Regions from separate parts of the Homo sapiens genome. Here all the other regions are linked to region 2. The links are contacts of gene promoters, found by promoter capture Hi-C in blood cells and fetal thymus (Javierre and others, 2016). All regions are on one chromosome and are shown on one strand. The core of a region is centred on a gene start or on the middle of the fragment in contact, and the rest is flanking DNA. Distances in the headings are between cores, read along the strand shown. Region 1 overlaps GAB2 (GRB2 associated binding protein 2). Region 2 holds the start of GAB2 (GRB2 associated binding protein 2). Region 3 overlaps GAB2 (GRB2 associated binding protein 2). Region 4 has its middle 18 kb from the start of NARS2. Region 5 overlaps GAB2 (GRB2 associated binding protein 2). Region 6 overlaps NARS2 (asparaginyl-tRNA synthetase 2, mitochondrial).

What was found. Contacts are between HindIII fragments. The CHiCAGO score rates a contact against its expected background, and 5 or more counts as called.
Region 1: a contact is called between a fragment that was not itself captured here and the fragment with the promoter of GAB2 in region 2, in 11 of 17 cell types (neutrophils, monocytes, M2 macrophages and 8 more). The highest score is 22.3, in neutrophils.
Region 3: a contact is called between a fragment that was not itself captured here and the fragment with the promoter of GAB2 in region 2, in 8 of 17 cell types (monocytes, neutrophils, M2 macrophages and 5 more). The highest score is 11.1, in monocytes.
Region 4: a contact is called between a fragment that was not itself captured here and the fragment with the promoter of GAB2 in region 2, in 2 of 17 cell types (M2 macrophages and naive B cells). The highest score is 5.5, in M2 macrophages.
Region 5: a fragment that was not itself captured here is called in contact with the fragment with the promoter of GAB2 in region 2 in 12 of 17 cell types (neutrophils, M2 macrophages, monocytes and 9 more); the score reaches 21.1 in neutrophils.
Region 6: a fragment that was not itself captured here is called in contact with the fragment with the promoter of GAB2 in region 2 in 17 of 17 cell types (megakaryocytes, total B cells, naive B cells and 14 more); the score reaches 35.3 in megakaryocytes.

The regions. Positions count from the first base shown.
Region 1 is chr11:78,277,834-78,281,266 of GRCh38, forward strand. It overlaps GAB2 (GRB2 associated binding protein 2), which reads right to left. Exons shown (of 10, transcript NM_080491.3): 2 at 2,768-3,068. Among named protein-coding and RNA genes, the nearest start is that of USP35, 91 kb to the left of the region's middle. The HindIII fragment of the contact is 2,120 bases long and covers 1,005-3,124 here.
Region 2 is chr11:78,415,515-78,419,443 of GRCh38, forward strand. GAB2 (GRB2 associated binding protein 2) reads right to left here and starts at 2,306. Exons shown (of 10, transcript NM_080491.3): 1 at 2,132-2,306. The coding sequence starts at 2,206. RefSeq lists silencers at 909-1,203, 1,666-1,795, 1,866-1,965, 2,076-2,695 and an enhancer at 1,292-2,046. The HindIII fragment of the contact is 5,597 bases long and covers 1-3,929 here.
Region 3 is chr11:78,261,173-78,264,539 of GRCh38, forward strand. The region is part of intron 2 of GAB2 (GRB2 associated binding protein 2); the gene reads right to left. Among named protein-coding and RNA genes, the nearest start is that of USP35, 74 kb to the left of the region's middle. The HindIII fragment of the contact is 1,710 bases long and covers 806-2,515 here.
Region 4 is chr11:78,590,784-78,594,226 of GRCh38, forward strand. No RefSeq gene overlaps it. Among named protein-coding and RNA genes, the nearest start is that of NARS2, 18 kb to the left of the region's middle. The HindIII fragment of the contact is 7,888 bases long and covers 1-3,443 here.
Region 5 is chr11:78,240,432-78,244,098 of GRCh38, forward strand. All of the region lies in intron 3 of GAB2 (GRB2 associated binding protein 2), which reads right to left. Among named protein-coding and RNA genes, the nearest start is that of USP35, 53 kb to the left of the region's middle. The HindIII fragment of the contact is 5,982 bases long and covers 1-3,667 here.
Region 6 is chr11:78,566,701-78,570,264 of GRCh38, forward strand. NARS2 (asparaginyl-tRNA synthetase 2, mitochondrial) reads right to left here. Exons shown (of 14, transcript NM_024678.6): 3 at 1,932-2,052. Among named protein-coding and RNA genes, the nearest start is that of NARS2, 6.4 kb to the right of the region's middle. The HindIII fragment of the contact is 856 bases long and covers 1,296-2,151 here.

The DNA of each region.
Region 1 (3,433 bases), core at 815-3,314, 140 kb before region 2:
TCTTCCAAGTGTTCTTTACTTCCTTTTGTTCCTGCTCTAACACTTTTTAATAAACTTTCACCCCTCTTCTAAAACATGGCTCAGTGTCTCACTCTGCCTTATGCCCTTTGGCCGAATTCTTTCTTCTGAGGAGGCAAGAATTGAGGTTGCTGCAGACCCAGATAGATTTGCCACTGCTAACAACATTTATGAAAGCTTTGAGACTGGTGTGTTTGTGAAGTTTTTCTTCCCCTGCTTTTTTTTTTTTTTTTTTGAGACAGAGTTTCACTGATGTTGCCCAGGCTAGAGTGCAATGGCATGGTCTTGGCTCACTGCAACCTCTGCCTCCCAGGTTCGAGCGATTCTTCTGCCTCAGCCTCCCAAGTAGCTGGGATTACAGGCGCCCACCACCATGCCTGGTTAATTTTTGTATTTGTAGTAGAGATGGGGTTTCGCCATGTTGGCCAGGCTGGTCTTGAACTCCTGATCTTAGGTGATCCACCTGCCTCGACCTCCCAAAGTGTTGGGCTTACAGGCGTGAGTCACCGTGCCCAGTCTGCTTTTTTTTTTGTTTTTTGTTTGTTTTTTGAGACAGGGTCTCCCTCTGTCACCCAGGCTGGAGTGCAGTGGTGCGATCTTGTCTCTGCAACCTCTGCCTCCTGAGTTCAAGCAATTCTCTCACTTCTGCCTCCTGAGTAGCTGGGAATACAGGTGCACGTCACCACAGCCTAATTTTTGTATTTTTAGTAGAGACGGGTTTTCACCATTATTGGTCAGGATGGTCTCGAACTCCAGGCCTCAGGTGATCTGCCTGCCTCAGCCTCCCAAAGTGCTGGGATTACAGGCGTGAAACACTGTGCCCAGCTCCCTGGCCTTTTAATTCGTTTCTTATTCCCCACCCCCAACATTTTTGTTTTTTTTTTTAGGACACAGGGTCTCGTTCTGTCATCCAGGCTGGAGTGCAGTGGTGTGATCACAGCTCACTGCAACCTTGAATTCCTGGCATCAACCAATCCTCCTACCTAAGCTTCCCTAGTAGCTGGGATTACAGGCATGCTACCATGCCCAGCTAATTTTTATTTTTTATCGAAATAAAAATGTTACAGTGAACCATGATTGTGTCACTGCACTCTAGTCTCGCTATGCTGCCCCAGCTGGGGCCCCTTTCCCTCTACCACTTTTTTTTACTGAATATGCATTGCTCTCCATCAGGAATAAAATAAAGGAAAAAAACAAAAACAACCTCCATGAAACCTATAAATGACAAAGATTTGGGGAAAACAGGAAATTCCACTCAGGAAGCAAGAAGATTATACCAAAGAACTTAATAAATAGGGGCTCATTATCCTTCCCCAAGGAAGATAAAAATCACAGAATTCCTAGGTTAGGATATCTAGTTCAGGAATGACTGGCTACATAATTTGCAGAGCCCAGTGTAAAATGAAAACGCAGAACTTCCTGTTAAAAAAACTATTAAGAACTTCAAGATAGTAATAGTGGAGTGTTAAACGAAGTGCAAGACCTTCTAAGGATGGGGCTCTTTGTGACTCCACAGTTCACATGTCCACGAACCTGGTCTTACATCTAGGGGCTCCCTAACCTGGCTGGTCCTCAGAATCACCTGAGGAACTTTTTTTTAAAGAATGAGACATAATTTACACGCCATAAATTTCAGCATTTTAAAGTGTAAAATACAGTGGTTTTTAGTATACTCATGAAAGTGTACAAATATCATCACTATCTAATTCCAGAACATTTTTACCACTCCAAGAAGAAACCCCATACTCATAAGCAGTCGCTTCTCACACTGTCACTCTCAGTCACCACCAATGTACTTTCTGTCTCTGTGGATTTGCCTGCTCTGAGCCTTCATACAAACGGAATCATAAAAAGATGGTCCTCTCTGTCTTCTTTCACTTAACATGTTTTCAGTACTTCATACCATTTTATGGCTTAGTAATATATATGTATATACCATATTTGATTTATTGATGGATATTTGGGTTGTTTCCACTTTTTGGCTATTATGAATAATACTGCTGTGAACATTCTTGTACAAGTGTTTGTGTAAACATGTTTTGGGAATATGCCTGCGAGTAGAATTCCTGGGTCAATTCTACTGCCCCAGAAAAAACTCTGCTCTTCAACCATCCCAGAGAGTTTGAGATGAGCCTAAACAAATGTTAAGGAGCATTTCTACAATTTAACACTCATTTCAAAAAGGTGAGCTACTCTTTTGTGAAGATTATAAAAACCCAAACATAAATCACTGTTTCCTCCTTTTATCTGTCCCCTCCCAAGTAAACATAAATGAACACTGAATCGTCAATAATCATCACAAAGAACCCGCACAAACAAGGGTCAAGTGTGACTGTGCAGGATGGCCTGAAATGGGCTAGGACAGACAGAGATGAAGGAGAGAAGGGACCAAGGTGAGACCTTCCCTATGGGATGGGTGACAGATAATGGGACACAGAGTGCTGGACAGCACAGGGAAGAGAGAAAACAGGAGGGATGAGGAACGGCAGTGGTGTTGAGGCACCTAAGGAAACACCACAAATACCTTTAGCTTTATCACAACCCCAACACTTTTTTTTGGTTTCCAGTTAGAGCATAATTAGGGCCAGGTGTCCCTCTAATATTTGGCCAACCCCTTCACACTCTTTACCCTTTATCTATGAACGCTCTTCCAACAGGAAACCTTAGCTAGAGCCTGCTCTCAATGCTCCAGGAATCCAAGGGCCTCACCTCAACCCCCTATGAGAAAGATCTGTGTGCGTTCTCATACCTGTGCTCTCCTCAGCCTGATTGAAGCCACAGATCTGGCAGATGCTCTGGACCCACTTATTCATGTCCTCTTCTGTCTCAGCCACCAGGTAAAAGGTGCGTTCACTGGTCTTGATGTCAAACACAAAACTATCCTGCAGCTCCTTCTTGTTAAAGGTCAGGCCTGCATCTACCTGCTCACAGAAGTTCAGGTTGATGATCCGCAGAGGCTTCTTGGAGTGATCGTTCTTGTAGTATTCCAGAACATCTGGGTCACCGCTCATCCGGCCACTCCGCAGGATAAACCAGCGTTTCTTCCAGGCCTAAATCATATCAGGAAGGAGTAAGAAGAGGGGGAAGAAGTCATTAGTTATTTCAAAGCTTTTTTCTTTCAGAGACAGGTCTTGCCCTGTTGCCCAGGCTGGAGTGCAGTGGCACAATCAAAGCTCACTGCAATCTTGAACTCCTGGGCTCAAGCGATCCTCCCACCTCAGCCTCCTGGGTGGCTGGGACTACAGACGCACATCACCACGCCCAGCTAATTAAAACATTTTTTTGTAGAGACAAGGTCTTGCTATGTTGCCTAGGCTGGTCTCAAGAGATCCTCCCAACTCAGCCTCCTAAAGCACTGGGATTATAAGTATGAGCCACTGTGCCTGACCTTAATGCATTTTTTTTTTTTTTGAGA
Region 2 (3,929 bases), core at 1,056-3,555:
CACATATCACCAGTTTCAGTTAGGGGGAAACTGAACTTCCGAAGGGGCAGAGGCTTCCAGTCATGTAAGTGAACACATCACATCCTAACCTAAGAAAAGCTGTTACTTAAAGCTGTTAAGGTCTGACACCTGATGGGCTGAAGGTACATGGAAGATGGGAAAGAGAGGCTAAGGCCATCATACGACTAGATTCGTTCAAATCAGTGAAAAAGGTGCTTGACCCAAATGCCTCCAAACCTGGTTATTTTGAACTAAAGTTGTTTGGGAACAAAAACACCCAAGAAATGGGTCATAGAGTCTGGGTGAGAGTTCAAGGAGCGATAAGTCAAATGTAGATACAGTGTCATACTGTTTGCAAATTGTTTCAAAAACAACTTTCAAGGTTCTTTAGTGTATAGTGTTCAAACTTGAAAATTAAGGGTCACTTTTTTTTTTTTTTTTTTTACTGTGGACACTGTATTCCACTAGCTTGTATGGAAATCTATTTGTATAGATAATTTTTGGAAGCTCTTCGGGACAAAGTTTTTAAATTATTTATAAAATTGTTAATAGTAAATCACTGCTCCTTAATCCTAATTAAAATATTCAACCTTCCTAACGAACTGATACAACCCTGAAGAGGAAAAAAGTTTATTTCTTAATAATTATACTTTGGCTACATAGACACTCCTAAAAATGAGCTTCCGAACTGAGATGAACAATTCACTGCTTCATTCCTCCTATAAATCCACGTCCACTTTCAAAACTCATGTGCTAAATCCTTAGATTTTTTTCCCCCAGCAAACATCTACCTAAGAGCCTGATTTCATTGACACACACTTGTACTCCGCAACAACAACACTTCCTTTGAAAAACAGAATGTCACTTCCTCAGTCCAGAGGCCAGAAGTCCCTTGATTCTGATCTGGGGAGCCAAGACAGGAAATTCTGGTAGGCTTCTGCCTCTCCCCCCATGGACAGCCACTGGTGCAGCTGACAGAGGGCAGGGTCTATTCCGAGCTCCCTTGATGCACTGCAGCTGGAGGCAACGGCTCCCTTCCAGGCTGTGGGAGTGATCCCGGAGTTCGGCACCACAGCCCGTTAAACAAGGGCATTTCATGGGAAACGGAGAGGGAGCAGATGAGAGACCTTGAAACCTTCCAGCAACCTTACCCCCACTTCCAAACTCCCGCGACTACCCCAAGACCATTTCGGCCAAATCTCAGTAACTGGCACCATCTTGTACTTTGACCTCACCAGGCAAGGCATCCTCTGGGGAGAGGGGTTAAAAAAAAAAAAAAAAAAAGCCAGAACTCCACGGCTCAGCGCCACGCTGTTCCACCTCCCCCAGGCTGCCAGTTCCCCACCTAGAGGGAAAAGGCTGTTCCAGCGATCTCAGTAAACACTGTCGGTTGGCAACACCTGGCCGCGGAGAGCCTCGATCTCTCCCGACCCCAGACACCCGGGAGCTGCCCGGTCCCAAACCCGGGCCAGCCACGGGGACCAAACTGCAGTGTCACACCGGGGTCGGGGGGAGGCGCCTGTGAGAGACGAACGGAATAAAGGGAAAGAAGGGGGACAAACAAATGAGTCACTTAATACAAGGGCTGCACATGCCGCTGACGCTGCCGGTGATGCAGCCGCGGACGGAGGGAGGCCGGCGGCCGGGAGGGGCAGGCGGAGAAAGGGAAGGAGAGGGCGTGAGGCGCTCGCCCTTTGTGGGGCCGTCCGCGCGGCCCCACAGCCTACGCCCCCCTTTCCCGCCCTCTCCCCGACCCTGCGGGCTGAAGCTGCTCGGGGCTGCCGCGGAGCCCCAGCCCCGAGAGTCAACTCTCTCGGTCTCCAGAAGCCATCAATACAAAACTTCGACACTGTATTTAGTTCACGAGCAGACCGGCTTGGGAGGCGCCGCAGCCGCACCCGCCTGGCGGAGCAGGAGCCGCAGCCTCAACCTGCCGCCCGCCCCGCCCCTCGGCGGCCCACCTGTGACAGGTGTGCAGGTGCCCCACACGCCCCCGGCCGCTCCTCGCCCCCGGCCCCCCGCGGCTCCGGGCCCGAGCTCCCCAGCCTGCCGCCCCTCCGGGAGTCCCCCGCCCCTCCGCAGGCCCCGGAGCGCCCCCCGCCCGCCCCTGGGCGGCCGCGCCCGCACTCACATAGCGCCTCAACTTCTTCTCGGGAGGCGATTTCCTCAGCCAGCCGGTGCACACCACGTCGCCGCCGCCGCTCATGCTGCCGGCCTGGAGCCCCCCGCCGGGTCGCGCGGACGAGGGCGCGGGCTCGGGCAGCTGGGGCAGCGGCCGGCGGTGCGCAGCTCGCGGGAGGCCAGGGGCGGGGCGGGCGGCCCGGCGGGGACTAGGCGGCGCGGCGCGGCGCGAGCCCGGCAGCCTCGCGCGCGCCCGCTCCCCCGCCCCGAGCGCGCGCAATCCGCACTCTCCGCCCGGCCGCCGGGGGAGCAGCTGCAGCAGGAAGGCCGGCTCGCTCGCCACGCCCGCTCCCGCCGCGCCCCCGAGGCCGCCGCGCACGCGGACGCGGGGCTAGGGACCCGCGAGGATACAGAAAGCCACCGCCGCCGGCGCGCCCCGGAGTCTCGCTTTCTCCTGAGGCCCCAAGCCGCGGGCGCGGAGGCCAGGGAGGCGACCGCGCCCCTGGCGCTGGCGGGTGTGAGGGGAAGGGACTGCGCGCCCTCGGTCGTCGATCGATTTTTCACCGAGCGTCGACGGGGAAGGGATACTAGGGCTGCTCACATTTCCGATACATTCTGCGGGTCAGGTTCCGGCTGAAAGGAGGGACCCCTTCCCAGCAAGAAGCTCCTTAACTCTGGCGTCCCTCGGCGGGAGGAGGAGACGGACCTACTACGCGCCGGAGCCTTTGCTTTTGTAGCTTACAGGATTGTCTTCAGTATTGTTCCTATTTTATGGACAGCCTAAGGGCAAGGGCTTGTACAAAGCCGAGCCAATTTTCCAATTCAGGTGTGTGGGGGAGGAGGGGTCCCGGTCATCTGCTATTCAAAATGAGGGCATTGCCTTAATGGGATCGACCTGGGAGCCTCTCATTGCCTGGAAACCAAGTCCAGCTGACTCCCTCCTACACTGCCTCTGGGAAAACACAGTTTAGTATAGAAAATTCGCATGATTTGTAGAATGGAAGAAGCAAAACTAGTCAATGTATTTCATAACGAATTGGAAGGCAAGGTCAAGTGCAGAAGAACAAGAAATTGGGGTCCAAATTCCCCAACGTTCCCGCTCATTGACACAGGCTATGAGACCTCTGTTTGTAAATATAATGGTATCCCAGATGTACGTGGAAGCACACAACCCCAGCACTTCAGCGGGAGGGGGGAGAAAAAAATCTTTTGTACGAGCTCTTTTCTCATCACAAAGTGTCTCTCTAAGCAGCATTAAAAGGCAGGTCCTCCCTAACTTCTCTGATAAGTGGATAGTAACCTGTTTATTCAATGGGGAACCGTGCTGTGTGGACAGATGAATTGGAGAAGCAGCATCTTGCAGTGCCCCACACAACCTCAGACTAAAGCTGTTTTGTTTATTTCTGTCTCTGTGCAGCTGAGTTGTTTCAAGCAGTTGGACATCATTTGGTCCAAAAGATCTTGATTGGGTTGGGGGAAGTTCACCCTCCTCAATTTGGAAAAGCGAATCCCCTACCACGTACTTAGCTCTTCTAGATACCCTGGGAGTTTTAGCGGTCAGTCCCCTGGATCTAACATTTCACTGACTTTCTTCAATATCCAGTGTGCTGCTGGATGGGAAGTAAAGCCAGAACTGGTAGGCTGGGACCACAGCTCCCTTAACCTTACAATTTAGGGATCCTTAAGTCACGTATGAAGGGCCACCACCAGAATGATGGCCATTTTAACTTCTGGCTTTAAGTACCTTAAATCCCTGTAAGACAAACAACACTTAACGTCTGCCAAATCAATCAGGAGGCGGTGACTTC
Region 3 (3,367 bases), core at 411-2,910, 150 kb before region 2:
GGGGGGCTGGGGAGCTGAGGTGGGAGGATCACTTGAGCCCAGGAGGTCGAGGTTGCAGTAAGCTGTGACCACACCACTGCACTCCGGCCTGGGCGACAGAGTGAGACCCTGTCTCAACAAAACCAAAACAAAAACCAGAACCAGAACCAGAACAAGGCGATCTTCAATAAACACACTAGAGCAGCAAGTTCTGTTGGAATCTTTCCTCCCTGGGTTAGAAGAATGACCAAATGAGATCCAAATGTAAACAGTTATTTAGGGTACAAGAAATTGTTATCACTTAGTGAGGTTTTCTGGGTTGTGTGTATTTCTGTTTGGGGATAGCAAGTCTATCTTTAGCCATGCACTGTGCTGTTGATTTGCAAGAGGTCAGGTTACAAGCTTTGTTTATACCTATCGTACCCCTTAGCTGCGGCAGACCCTTCTCCTGTTCCTTCGTGTGGGGCTTGGGTTGGTTAGTTGGTCCCATCAAGGATTCATTCATATTTGAAATGAAGCACTCTTGTGATTTACTTAGGGTCTGGAGCAGGTACGAGAGGCACTACTGAGCTGCAGGCCAGCCCCAAAGGGTGGCCTATGCTTTATGAGCTTACATGCAGTCAGAAAGAACAAATTTATACTCGGAGGAGCACTTCAGCCCTCCCCCGAGGAACTTTGGGAACCCATTAGTTTTCCCACAGGAATCAATCCATCAAGTGGGTATATTAAGTTCACATTAATGATGCATTTGACCCTTGTAACCTTTCCACAGAAATATCCAAAATACATCACTGTATTTTGAAGCTAACCAACTTTATAAGAGATAAGCTTTTCCCTCCTTTCACAGTGACTCTGAGACAACTGGCAATTGGTGTAAAACAGAAGCGTCAGACTTATCAGTTGTGGATGCTTATCAAGAATCGTGATCAGCGGCAATAATCACAAGATTGCACCTTAAACTGGTATAGTGTGGATGGCTAGGCTAGGATTCAAAGAGCTCCAGTTTTGCCTAGGGAATTATGAGATCTACATAATTCTCTGAAGGGGAACTTCGGCTTCAGGAGAAGCAGTGTGCTACTGGGAAAGGAACATGCACGTTGGAGTCCGAATCTCAGCTTACTAGTTGTGAAACCTAGGGATGGTACCTGAATCCAAGAGTTCTAATTTGTAAAATTTATAAAACAGCTACCTGAAGAATTGTTCTGGGGAATAAGAAATGACATAGTCCCTGCACATGGGTGCTCCACAAATGGTAGCTGGCCCTCAGCACTGCACTGTGGGAGGTAACCTGGTGAGGGAAAAGATCTTGAACTCTGTGTTCCCAGACCTTCAGGGTTTGACCAGAGGCAGGATCTGTCGCAGAGGGTACAAAAATGGGGTCAGCTGCCCTTCATGTGCTGAGTAGAGGACTTCAGCTACAGAGCCTCGCAGGACCCAGCTTGTAGCTGGCAGCTCTTTCTCAGCCCCTGCCTCCAGTCCCGGGGGTCCCAATAATCTCCTGGTTTCACATCTGTAGTTTCCCTACTCATCTCCCAGACTTGTGTCTTGTTGCCTTGCCATCTCTAGGTTTTTAAAATTGCAGTCCAAAAGGGAGAGTTGTCTTTTTAACACCACTGGGAAGGCCAAAATACTATCTGTACTGAGTGGGCCTGCATACTGAGTACATTATTTGAGCAGGCCTGCCAAAGCATATTATTACACCAGAACAGGGGTCAGCAAACTACAGCCCATACATTACATCTGGTCTGTTTCTGTGGTTTCACTAGAACACAGCTGTATCAACTTATTTACATAATTGTTTATGGCTGCATATATACTACAACAGCAAAGCTGAGTAGTTGCTACAAAGTACAGATGACAAAGCCTAAAGTATTTACTATCTGGCCCTTTACAGAGAAAGTTTGCTGACCCTTAGACTAAAAGTTCTCACTCTGGTTTGCATAAACATGTCCTCCTTCAAAATATTAGCATCTAATTTAAGTTCATCACCAAGGATACAGATTTAAGCTAAAACTGAAACCATCGAATCCCAAATTTATGCTTTGAAATAACCAAGAGAAGAAATGACAAGATAAGCTAGTTTGAAGAGCCCATTAGTATTATTATAAGAAACCATATTCCTTTTTATTAGAGCACACCTTAGGCACAAACAATGTGCTAGTTGTTGGTCAGCATACAGAATTTAAAGATTCAAGAGTCTGGCCGGGCGCAGTCACTCACACCTGTAATCCCAGCATTTTGGGAGGCCAAGGCGGGCAGATGACGAGGTCAGGAGATAAAGACAATCCTGGCTAACACGGTGAAACCCCATCTCTACTAAAAATACAAAAAATTAGCTGGGCATGGTGGTGGGTGCCTGTAGTTCCAGCTAGTAGGGAGGCTGAGGCAGGAGAATTGCTTGAACCCAGGAGGCAGAGGTTGCAGTGAGCCGAGATCGCGCCACTGCACTCCAACTTGGGCGACAGAGTGAGACTCTGTCTGGGGGAAAAAAAAAAAAAAAAAATCAACAGTCTAATATGGTAAACTTGTACTAACAAGCTTAAATCACCAGCTTGTTCTTTCTGATTCTTAACCATTTATTCTTTTTCCATATCACAGAAGCACAGGTCTGGAAATAACCCACGGGATCATTTAGTTTAATATTAATACTTTACTGACAGAAAGCCTACAGTTCAGAGAGATCAAGTGATTTTCTTACCAGTGACTGAGTGCCTAGTCACCTGGGCAAGGATGTCAGTCTCCTGTCAATTTTTTTTTTTTTTTTTAAGTAAAACATCTCATTGGGGGAGCAATAAACATAACTTCTGGGTATATTTTTCTACTGTAAGGAAAATGAGAACAGCTTTTATTTACCAATCTAACATATCTCCACAAAATTCTCTAAAAAGTCCAACATTGTAACTGAAAAAGGTCTGAATTATTATTGACATGCTGTTGTGTTAAATAGTACTGTTTTCATATATTATATAGTACTTCCTAATTTGCTTTGATGTCAATACAAACAAGCCTGCTGGGATCATGACAGAGATTGGACTGAATCTACTGATTAATATGGGGAGAACTGACATATTAACAATACTGAGTCTTCTCCATAACACGATCTCTCTTTCCATATTCTGGGTCTTCTTTAATTTATCCCAGTAATGTTTTGTTGTTTTATGTACAGAGATCTAGGATGGCTTTTGTTAAATTGATTCCTAAGTATTTTATTTTTTGATGCCATTGTGAAAGGAATTTTTTAAAAATTTCTTTTTCTTTTTTTTTTTGAGACACAGTCTCACTCTTTTTGCCCAGGCTGGAGTGCAGTGGCACGATCTCAGCTCGCTGCAGCCTCCGCCTCCCAGATTCAAGTGATTTTCCTGCCGCAGCCTCCTGAGTAGCTGGGACT
Region 4 (3,443 bases), core at 219-2,718, 170 kb after region 2:
CGTAGAAAGACAAATATTGCATGGTCTTATGACTCTAAAAACAGTCAATCTGAGATGCAGAGAGTAGAATGGTGATTACCAGGGTCTGGTTATGAGGAATGGGGAGATGCTGATAAAAAGGTACAAAGTTTTAGTTAGACACAAGTAAGTTCGGGTGATCTATTGTAAAAATGGTGACTACAGCTAATAATAATGTACTGTGTACTTGAAAATGGCTAAGAGAGGCTGGGCGTGGTGGCTCACGCCTGTAATCCCAGCACTTTGTGAGGCCAAGGCCGGTGAATCACTTGAGGTCAGGAGTTCTAGACCAGCCTGGCCAAGATGGTGATACCCCATCTCTACTAAAAATACAAAAATTAGCTGGGCATGGTGGCACGTGCCTGTGATTCCAGCTACTTGCAAGGCTGAGGTGGGAGAATCGCTTGAACCCAGGAGACGGAGGTTACAGTGAGCCAAGATCATGCCACTGCACTCCAGCCTGGGCGACAGAGCGAGACTCCATCTCAAAAAAAAGAGAGGAGACATTATGGATTAAAGGAAAAATAAAACACATAGCAATCAAATGTAATGCATGAATGCTTACTTGGATTATGACTTAAGTCAACAGAGAAAAGATATATTTTTTAAAGACATAAAAATAGTTCAACAGCACAGAGTATTATTTTTTGAGTTTCTCTAAGATTGATATTATTTCCTTTTTAAGTGTTTGAATATAATTCATTGTGTAGTCATGTGGGCCTAGAGCTTCCTTCATGAGAAAGTTAAATTAAATTAAATTAATTAATTATTTTAGAGACAAGGTCTTGCTATGTTCCCCATGCTGGTCTTGAACTTCTGGGCTCAAGCAATCCCCTCTCCTCAGTCTTCCAGAGTTCTGAGATTATAGGCATGGGCCACTGCACTCGGCCTATGAGACGGTTTTGAATTACAGATTTAACATGTTTAATAAATATGATGTTGTGCAGATTTTGTATTTCTTTTTCCGTCAGTTTTTGTAAGTTGTATGTTTTGAGAAATTTATCTAAGCAGCTAAATTTCTTGGCATAAAATTGTTCATATTATTCTTTCAGTGTCTGTAGGATCTGTAATGACGTCCTTTAATTCCTAATATTAGTTGATATTGAGGAATTATGCACAAAATTCTTCGCTGTTAAAGATACAATCCTAAAGAATTTATGGGTGAAATGTGATATCTAGAATTTGGTTTTAGATATTTCAGAAAAAAAATAAAACAGTATAGATGGAATAGATGAAATAGGACTGGTAAAATGTTGAAAAATATTGAAGTTGGGTAACATACACAGGAATTCATTGTACTATTCATGTTGGAGATTTTTCTATAATAAAAATGGTATGTAAAAAAGAATGGGAGAAGAGAAATTGGAGACAGGGTTTTCAAGAAGTTTTGTTGTAAGGGGAGCAGAAAAACTGAGGTGGTAACTGGTGGAAGAATGTGGTCATGAAAGCGGACTTCTTTAATATGTGAGAAATAATAGCATGTTTGTCTGGTGATAAGAAAGATCTGATTTTTCCATTAGAGCCCTTAGCATATTAATCACCATTGTTTTAAATTCCTGGTCTAATAATTCTAACATCTCTGCCATATCTGAGTCTGATTCTAATGCTTGCTCTGTCTCTTCAAACTGTGTTTTTTTTTTTGTCTTTTAGTTTATCTTGTAATTTTATTTTTTTTAATCTTTATCTTTAATTTTTTTGTTGAAAGTTGGACACAATGTAGTGGATAAAAGGAACTGAGGTAAATACATCTTTATTTTCATTTATTTATTTATTTATTTTGAGATGGAGTCTCGGTCTGTTACCCAGGCCGAAGCGCAGAGGCGTGATCTCGGCACACTGCAACCTCCGCCTCCTGGGTTCAGGTGATTCTCCAGCCTCAGTCTCCCAAGTAGCTGGAACTACAGGCACGAGCCATCACACCTGGGCTAATTTTTGTATTTTTAGTAGAGATGGGATTTCACCATGTTGGCCAGGCTGGTCTCAAACTCCTGACCTCAAGTGATCCACCCTCCTTGGCCTCCCAAAGTGCTAGGATTACAGGTGTGAGCCACCACACCCGGCCTGTAAATAAGTCTTCAGTGGGAAGTTGTATATTTATCTTATTTATCTAGTTAGAAGTTAGGCTGTGTTTACTGTTTGTTGTAGCTGTGGGAGTCAGAGGCAAAAATTTCCTCCGGTGTCCTTGTTTTTGTCTCACCTGTTATCTTTGGATTTCCCTAGAGACTTCTTGGGAGGTCTCAGAAATAACATGCAGTTATTTCTGTTGTACTCCCTTATTATCATACAGATAAGTCCTGTTGATATAGTGGTGAGGTGTGGAGAGAGAGGAAGAATTCTATAGACCTGTGATTAGGTCTTAGACTTTAGCGAGCCTGTGCTCCTGGGCTGCACCTTTCACAAGCGCTTCTCAGTTCTTTCCCGCTTTAGTTGGCAAAAAGGGGCTGGAGTTGGGTATTTTCCTTCTCCTGTGATTAGTCTCTGGTAAAATCCAGTCAGCTAGCCTCTGATAACATAGTTTCCATTGAGAGCAGGCTTTGTTAAGAAGAGCTGGACACTTTGGCATATTTCGAATGGCTATTTTTCCCCTCCTCTTGCCAGAAGCATGAGGATTTTTTTTTTGTTTTTTTTTTTTTTGCTGATCTTCACCCTGAGAACCTGGTAGGGTTCTTGGAGGTAAAACTCACGAAAGTGGAGGTAAAATCCAGTATGACTGGCCACATGCCCTGGAGTTTTTAACTTTCAAACTTGTCCACACAGAGCCTCCAGCAATTCATCTATTATAGTTTGGGTTTTTCGTTCCCCAGTACTCGTTCTTGCAGAGTTTTCTGCCCCTGGGCTTCTATTCCAGTAAGTTGTGATTCTCTGTATTTACCCATTTGTCTCTCCAGTTTGGGGGACAGAAGTGTGCCCTGTTACTTCAACTGATTTTCAGTTTATTTAGCTTTTTTATTGTTGTGAAGACAGGAGTGATGACTTCCAAGCTCCTTACTTGCTAGACCAGAAACCGGAAGGGAAAGATCTAGAAGAGAGGAAAACTTGACACAGGAAAGACAGAAGAAAATTCCTAGTGTTGATGAGTTTGAATTGGTGAAAGGGGGTGTGATCTAGTGTTCAAGTGGAGGACTAGCCTTAGCTGATAACATCATGAGCACTTTATATTAGCACAGAGAAGGTAGAGGACATGGGCGCACATGAAGATTGATGGGTATGTGGGGGTATATATGATAGTGGGAACTTGTAGAGACATCCTCTTTAATTTGCTTCTATTTCACAATGAAATAGGAAGGAAGGTTTTCTGTAGAGAAAGACGGATGGACAGACACACACACGAGAGAGAGAGAGAATGGCAAAGTAGATGTTAGAGTTTTGAAAAGAGGAAAAAGATTATGAAAGAATTATTTGGATCATTTAGGAGAGTGGGAGAG
Region 5 (3,667 bases), core at 14-2,513, 180 kb before region 2:
CTACAGGCCAAACAACTCTAGTGCCTTGCTTTCCTGGAGCTGCACTAGCCCCCTAGAGTCTGAGCTGTTGAGATACGCCTCTCCCTGGGGAGTAGAGTCATTGCTCTGCTGTTCCCTGCCCCTCTGTAGCCCAAAACACAGCTATACTCTGCCATTCCCGGGTATTTGCTAAGCCTAAAGAGGGACCATGTAGAGTCACTGCTACATGGTGTATCAATCCCTGGGACCCAAGTTGCCATTGAGCCTTATTGACTCAGGTTCCCAAATTCTAGTTGTATCCTCCTCCCTGAAACCAAACCTCCAGAACATCCCTTCTTGCCCAGGGTGAGGCCAGTGCTGTGCTCTGCCTACCAGGGGTAGAATCACAGCTGGCCCCTGACCTGAGCTGATAGAGGGTTCAACAGAGTCATATCATAGATCCTGGCCCGGAGGGCAGTCCACATCCAACCATGCTACGGAGAGTGAACCTGCACCCCAAGACCCAGCTGCCACAATAGGTTCATGAGACTCTGAGCTTAGAAACCCAACGCCACATAAGCTCCAAGCACCAGTACCTAGAACCCAGCACTGCTGCAGCTACTTGTAGGCCATGCCAGACCTGACACTAAGAGGGATCCCCCTGACTGAGTCTCCTCATTTGGGGAAAATGAGAAGAGAAAGACCCAAAAAGCCCTTTACGCTAAGGATATTAACAACCTATGCTACCACCGCTGCTGCACAAACTTCTATAGTCTAGGCCACTGAGGCACTCCCAGTTATTGTTGATGTTGAACATAGGCAAAGAAGCTGCATGGAGACTATACCATTGCACCTAAGTGGAAACACAGTCATCACATCCTTCTCAACTGGAACACTAAAACCCAACTGCAGGTGAAAGTCTTTCTCTAAGAAATCCACTCCAGAAAGTCTGGAAGAGGTGATCTTTCCACCAGAAGCATGGACACTTAACATGAGGACACAAGAAACACAAAAAAGGAAGGAAATATAACACCAAAAAAGCACCAAAGGAACTCTGGCTAGTAACTAGAGCCCAGTGAAAAGGAGATCAACAAATTACAGAAAGGGAATTCAAAATAATGACCTTAAGAAAACTCAATGAGGTACAAGAAAACACACACAATTCAAAGAAATTAGGAAAAAGAATTCACAATATGAACAAAAAAATTCAAAAAAGAGAAAGAAAAAAAAAAACCCAGAAATCTTGCAGCTGAAGAATTCAATGAATGAAATAAAAAACACAACAGAGAGCTTCAACAGCAAACTTGATCAATTAGAAGAAAGAATATCTGAACTTGAAGAAAGGTAGTTTGAAATTACCCAGCCAGAAGGAAAGGGGGAATACAAATGAAAAGAGTGAAGAAAACCTGCAAGACTTATGGAACACCATTAAGATCTACAGGGAGAGACAGACTCTAATATAATCATAGTTGGAGACTTCAACACCTCACTCTCAGCATGGACAGATCACCTAGACAGAAAATCAACAGGGAAACAATTAGATTTAAACTGCGCTTTAGATCAAATGGACCTAACAACACTTCATCCAACAGCTGCAGAGTATAATTCTTCTCATTAGCACATGTGACATTCTATAGGACAGACCTCATGTTAGGCCAAGAGATTTTAAAAGAATTGATATCACATCAAGCATCTTTTCTAACCACAATGGAATAAAACTAGAAATCAGTAACAAGAGGAAATTTCAAAATTGTACAAATACATGGAAAATTAAACAACATGCTCTTGAATGATTTAATGGGTCAATGAAAAAATTAAGAATGAAATTTAGAGCCGGGTGTGGTGGCTCATGCCTGTAATCCCAGCACTTTGAGAGGCCAAGGTGGGCGGATCACGAGGTCAGGAGATCGAGACCAACCTGGCTAACACGGTGAAACCCCATCTCTACTAAAAATACAAAAAATTAGCTGGGTGTGGTGGCGGGCACCTGTAGTCCCAGCTACACAGGAGGTTGAGGCAGGAGAATGGTGTGAACCTGGGAGGCAGAGCTTGCAGTGAGCCGAGATCATGCCACTGCACTCCAGCCTGGGCGACAGAGCGAGACTCCGTCTCAAAACAAAAAAAAAAGAAAAAGAATGAAATTTAGAAATGTCTGGAAACAAATGAAAATAGAAACACAACATACCAAAGCCTATGGAATACAGCAAAAGCAGTATTAATAGAGAAGTTTATGGCAATAAATGCTAATACCAAAAAAGTAGAAAATTTTCAAATAAACATCCTAATGATGCATCTCAAGGAAGCAGAAAAACAAGAACCAAACCCAAAATTAGTAAAAGGGGAAAAAAAAGATCAGAGCAGAAATAAAATTGAGACAAAATAAAACTGATCAACAAAATGAAGTTAATTTTTTCAAAGAATAAACAAAATCAAACCAGTAGCAAGACTGACCAAGAAAAAACGGGAAAAGATCCAAATAAATACAAAATCAGTCTGGGTGTGGTGGCTCATGCCTGTAATCCCAGCACTTTGGGAGGCTGAGGCGGACAGATCACTTGAGATCAGGAGTTCGAGACCAGCCTGGCCAACATGGTGAAACTCCGTCTCTACTAAAAATACAAATATTAGTGGGCATGGTGGCACACGCCTGTAATCCCAGCTACTCGGGTGGCTAAGGCATGAAAATCGCTGGAACCTGGGAGGCGGAGGTTGCAGTAAGCTGAGATCACACCACCGTACTCTCCAGTATGGGCGACAGAGTGAGACTCTGTCTAGAAAAAAAAAAAGAAAAAAAAAGGCTGGGCATGGTGGCTCATGCCTGTAATCTCAGCACTTTGGGAGGCAGAGGCAAGTGGACTGCTTGAGGTCAGGAGTTAGAGACCAACCTGGCCAACATGGCAAAACTTTGTCTCTACTAAAAATAGAAAAATTAGCCAGGAGTGGTGGTGGGCGCCTGTAGTCCCAGCTACCCGGGAGGCTGAGGCATGAGAATCACTTGAACCCAGGAGGTGGAGGTTGCAGTGAGCCAAAATCGCGCAGCTGCACACCAGCCTGGGTGACACAGCGAGACTCCGTCTCAAAATAGATAAAGGAATAAAATAAAAAAGAAAAAGGAGACATTGTAACTGACAGCATAGAAATGCAAAAAGGATCATTAAAGATGATTATGGACCAGGTGCAGTGGCTCATGCCTGTAATCCCAGCACTTTGGGAGGCCGAGGCGGGCAGATCACGAGGTCAGGGGATCGAGACCATCCTGGCTCACATGGTGAAACCCTGTCTCTACTAAAAATACAAAAAAAAAATTAGCTGGGCACAGTGGCACGTGCCTGTAGTCCCAGCTACTTGGGAGGCTGAGGCAGGAGAATCACTTGAACCCGGGAGGCGGAGGTTGTAGTGAGCTGAGATCGCGCCACTGCACTCCAGCCTGGAGGACAGAGCAAGACTCTGTCTCAGAAAAAGAAAAAAGAAAAAAGATGATTATGAACTATACACCAACAAATTAGAAATCCTAACAGAAATGGATAAATTCCTGGACAAACACAACTTACCAAGATTGAACCCAAAAGAAATAGAAAATCTGAACAGACTAATTATGAGTAATGAGATGGAATTTGCAAAAAAAAGTCTCCCATCAAAAGCAAAAACAAAAAAGGGCCCAGCTAAGACCTCAGAAGCACCATCAAAAACAAAAAATAGACAAATGGCT
Region 6 (3,564 bases), core at 474-2,973, 150 kb after region 2:
TGAAAGCCCATATCATTCATAATCAATTGGTGCAATTCATTACTATTATCAACGTGCTACTTCCATCTAGCAGAGTAGTAAAGATTTACAAAAAATTTGAAAGAAAATTATGGCTCCACATTGAAATATGTCTACACTGCTCACATTCATGTTACAAGATTAAGACAGACACATCCTTTCAGACAAAAATCAAAGTTTTAATTAAAAAGATAACAGAGAAGCTAAAAAAGAGCTACACTGGCAGCCTGTTTCTTTCAGTCTCATCCATTCTAAGTCTTGTACAAATACAAACTTTTATGTCGTATAGAAACAAGCACTATACTTACTAAAAGTGAAAATGTGACCATATCATAATTCTAGGGGTCAGAATTCCCTAATGTTGGAATACTTCAAAATGATACTGAATCAGAGGGCTTCAGGGAAGATGAAGCCATCAACACCAACAGAAGCCAAGGAAGAACAATTTAAGAATATAGTAGTCCCCCACTTACCCACAGGGGATATGTTCCAAGACCCCCAGTGGACGCCTAAAACCACGGACAGTATCAAACCATATAAACATTATGTTTTTTCTTCCACAACAATGGCCAGGTAGTGTATAAAGTACAGATAAGCAGGACAAAAGGATGATTCACATTCTAGGCAGGATGGAGCAGGACGGCTCAAGATTCCATGACACAATGAGAATGGCATGCAATTTAAAATTTAAGAATTATTTCTAGAATTTTCCATGTAGTATTTTGAGACCATAGTTCACCGTGGGCAACAAACCGTGAAAAGCAAAACCACAGACAAGGTTGAACTACTACAGTGAAACACACGGCAAATTTTTAGTAATCACAGATCCCTCTAAAAAAAACAAAAAGAAAAATGGTTACCGTCTATATTACGCTCTTGATTTCCAAATTATTCTACACTCTATTTCTCAGAAATCTTAGAACCTGATTTCTGATTTTACATCAATTAGAATTTCTTGGAAATTAAGGATGACATTTTAATAAAAATTGCATTTTCTTCTTTTATTTCCTTACATTTCTTCCTATTATACTGAAAGAATACACAATGAATTAAAATGATGCAATTTTCCTATATTTCCTCATTTTTGTTCATTAAATATTTGAAGACAGGTGTAGCAAAAACACAGAGGATTCAAATGGCTAGAATATAAATTTCAGCTGTGCCACATCAGCTCATAATGTTAAGCAAATCACTTCATCTGGCTGGGCCTCATTTTCTCCACTGTAAATTTAAAGAATTTCATTAATAATCTTTTATTCTCTCTAACCTCTTTATCAAGCTTATATATATGAAGCTAACAGAAGAGTCTTGCAAAAACAGGCATAAACATGTCTTAATACAGAATTTCTTGCCTCTATTCGGCCTAAGCCTTACAATACTACTGATCGGCATCACCCAACAGAACTTTCTGTGATAAATGGAAATATTCTGTGCTATCCAATATAGTAGCCAGTAGCCACATGCAACTACTGAGCACTTGAAATGTGGGTAATGCCACTGAGGAACTGGATTTTTTTAATGAATTTTAATGGATTTAATACCAAACAGCCAAAGGTGGCTAGAGCCTACCATTATTGGATGATCGGTTCTACATCATGCAAAAGTCATTCTTGGCTTTCCTAAGAATGAGCCCACCCTGGTATATCATGGTGGCTGACTGGGCATGCTTGTAAAAGCAGCAAGTTTTAACTGTGACACACACCACAGAGATGCAAAAATCAACACTTACCTCTCACTAAGCTATGTACATAAATAATTTTTGCTACTGCCTCTACAGGTCATATGGCTTGTTTCAATTATCTGTCACAAATGAAATATATTCTAAGTTTCATCTTCCTAATAATCACACTTAAAACAGATTGCTGTCTTAATTAAAGCCTAAACAGCCTCCACAAAAGTGTCAGAAATCATACCTTGGCATCACAATTTCCAATAACTTTAATTTTTTCTGCCTTCAGTTCCACATTTTGCCTTTTGGATGGACTTTTTATCAGCTGCCCTTGTACTTCCACAGAACTCCCAAAATTTAATTCTCTATAGTAACAAAAAACAAGATAAACAAGATATCATTATATACAACCTTCATTTTAATATCAACTTTGCAATAAGAATATTAAAATACTTAATGACAAAAGCTTTTACCCTTATTGGGTTAAATAATCTTCAGAATCTATGGATAATCTGTCGTATAAATAGAGCATAAAGTTATAAAATGAATTCCATAAGCTTTAAAATGGGAATAGAGTTAAGAATTTGTATAATTAATTCAGAATTAAGAGGTTGTACAATTGCCCTTATTAAAAAGTTAGTTGGCCAAAACACTTTTTAAAAGATTACAGAATACATGGGAAAACTGCAAATCAAAATAAAATTTGCCGGGAATTCTCTGTCCTATTTTTGCAATTAAAAAAAAATTTTTTTTTACTTAGTTGACTGGTGATCTAAGCACATAAGGTGCTACTTTCTAGTTAATAAGACTAGGTTCGAGTTCAAGTTCTCCCATAGATTAACTGTATGACAACTATGGAAAGTCATCTAAGCTCATTTAAGAATCATCTATCAAAAAAGGAGCTGGTAAATGATAGTACATCTGTTCTAATTCTTTTTTCTTTTCTTTAAAGAGACCAGGTCTCACCATGCTGTCAAGGCTGGTCTCGAACACCTGGGCTCAAGCAATCCTCCTGCCTTGGCCTCCCAAAGTGCTGGGATTAGAGGCATGAGCCACCACGCCCAGCCCATCTGTTCTAGTTCTAACATTTCATAATTACAGTAAGTATGACAATAAGTGCCTTCCTAATAAACTATTGAAATATTGTAATATAGCAATACAATAAATTTTATTGAAGTAAATAAGTCAGGAGATTCTCCATCCAGTTTTGTTTGCTTGCTAAATATATGCTATTCTTATATAATTTATATAAATAAGATTGTCCACTATTGCATTATGGGTGGGGAAATCTGGTATACTTTCATCAACCTGAGAGGGTAATTTGAGATGCTCTGACTTAAAATATGTACTACCTGACATATATGAATATAAGTATATCCTAAGGTTTCCTGGGAATATCTCAAAGAGACAGTCATCCTACAGAAATCTAAAATCTAGGTCCCATTAGACCCATGTGATTGCTATACTGATATAATCAAAACAATTACAAAGTTGTTTAAAAGGTTACCATTAATATTAGGGCCAGGTGTGGTGGCTCATGCCTGTAATCCCAGCACCTTGGGAGGCTGAGGCAGGCAGATCACTTGAGGTCAGGAGTTCGAGACCAGCCTGGCCAACATGGTAAAATTCTGTCTCTACTAAAAATACAAAAAATTAGTCCAGTGTGGTGTCGCACACCTGTAATCCCAACTACTTGGGAGACTGAGGCACGAGAATTGCCCGAACTCATGAGGCAGAGGTTGCAGTGAACCGAGATCATGCCACTACATTCCAGCCTGAGCGACAGAGTCAGACTCTCTCCAGGAAAAAAAAAAGTTACTATTACATCAGAACAATTTTTTTTTGTTCTGCCCAGTTAACCACATAGTCTCTGATCC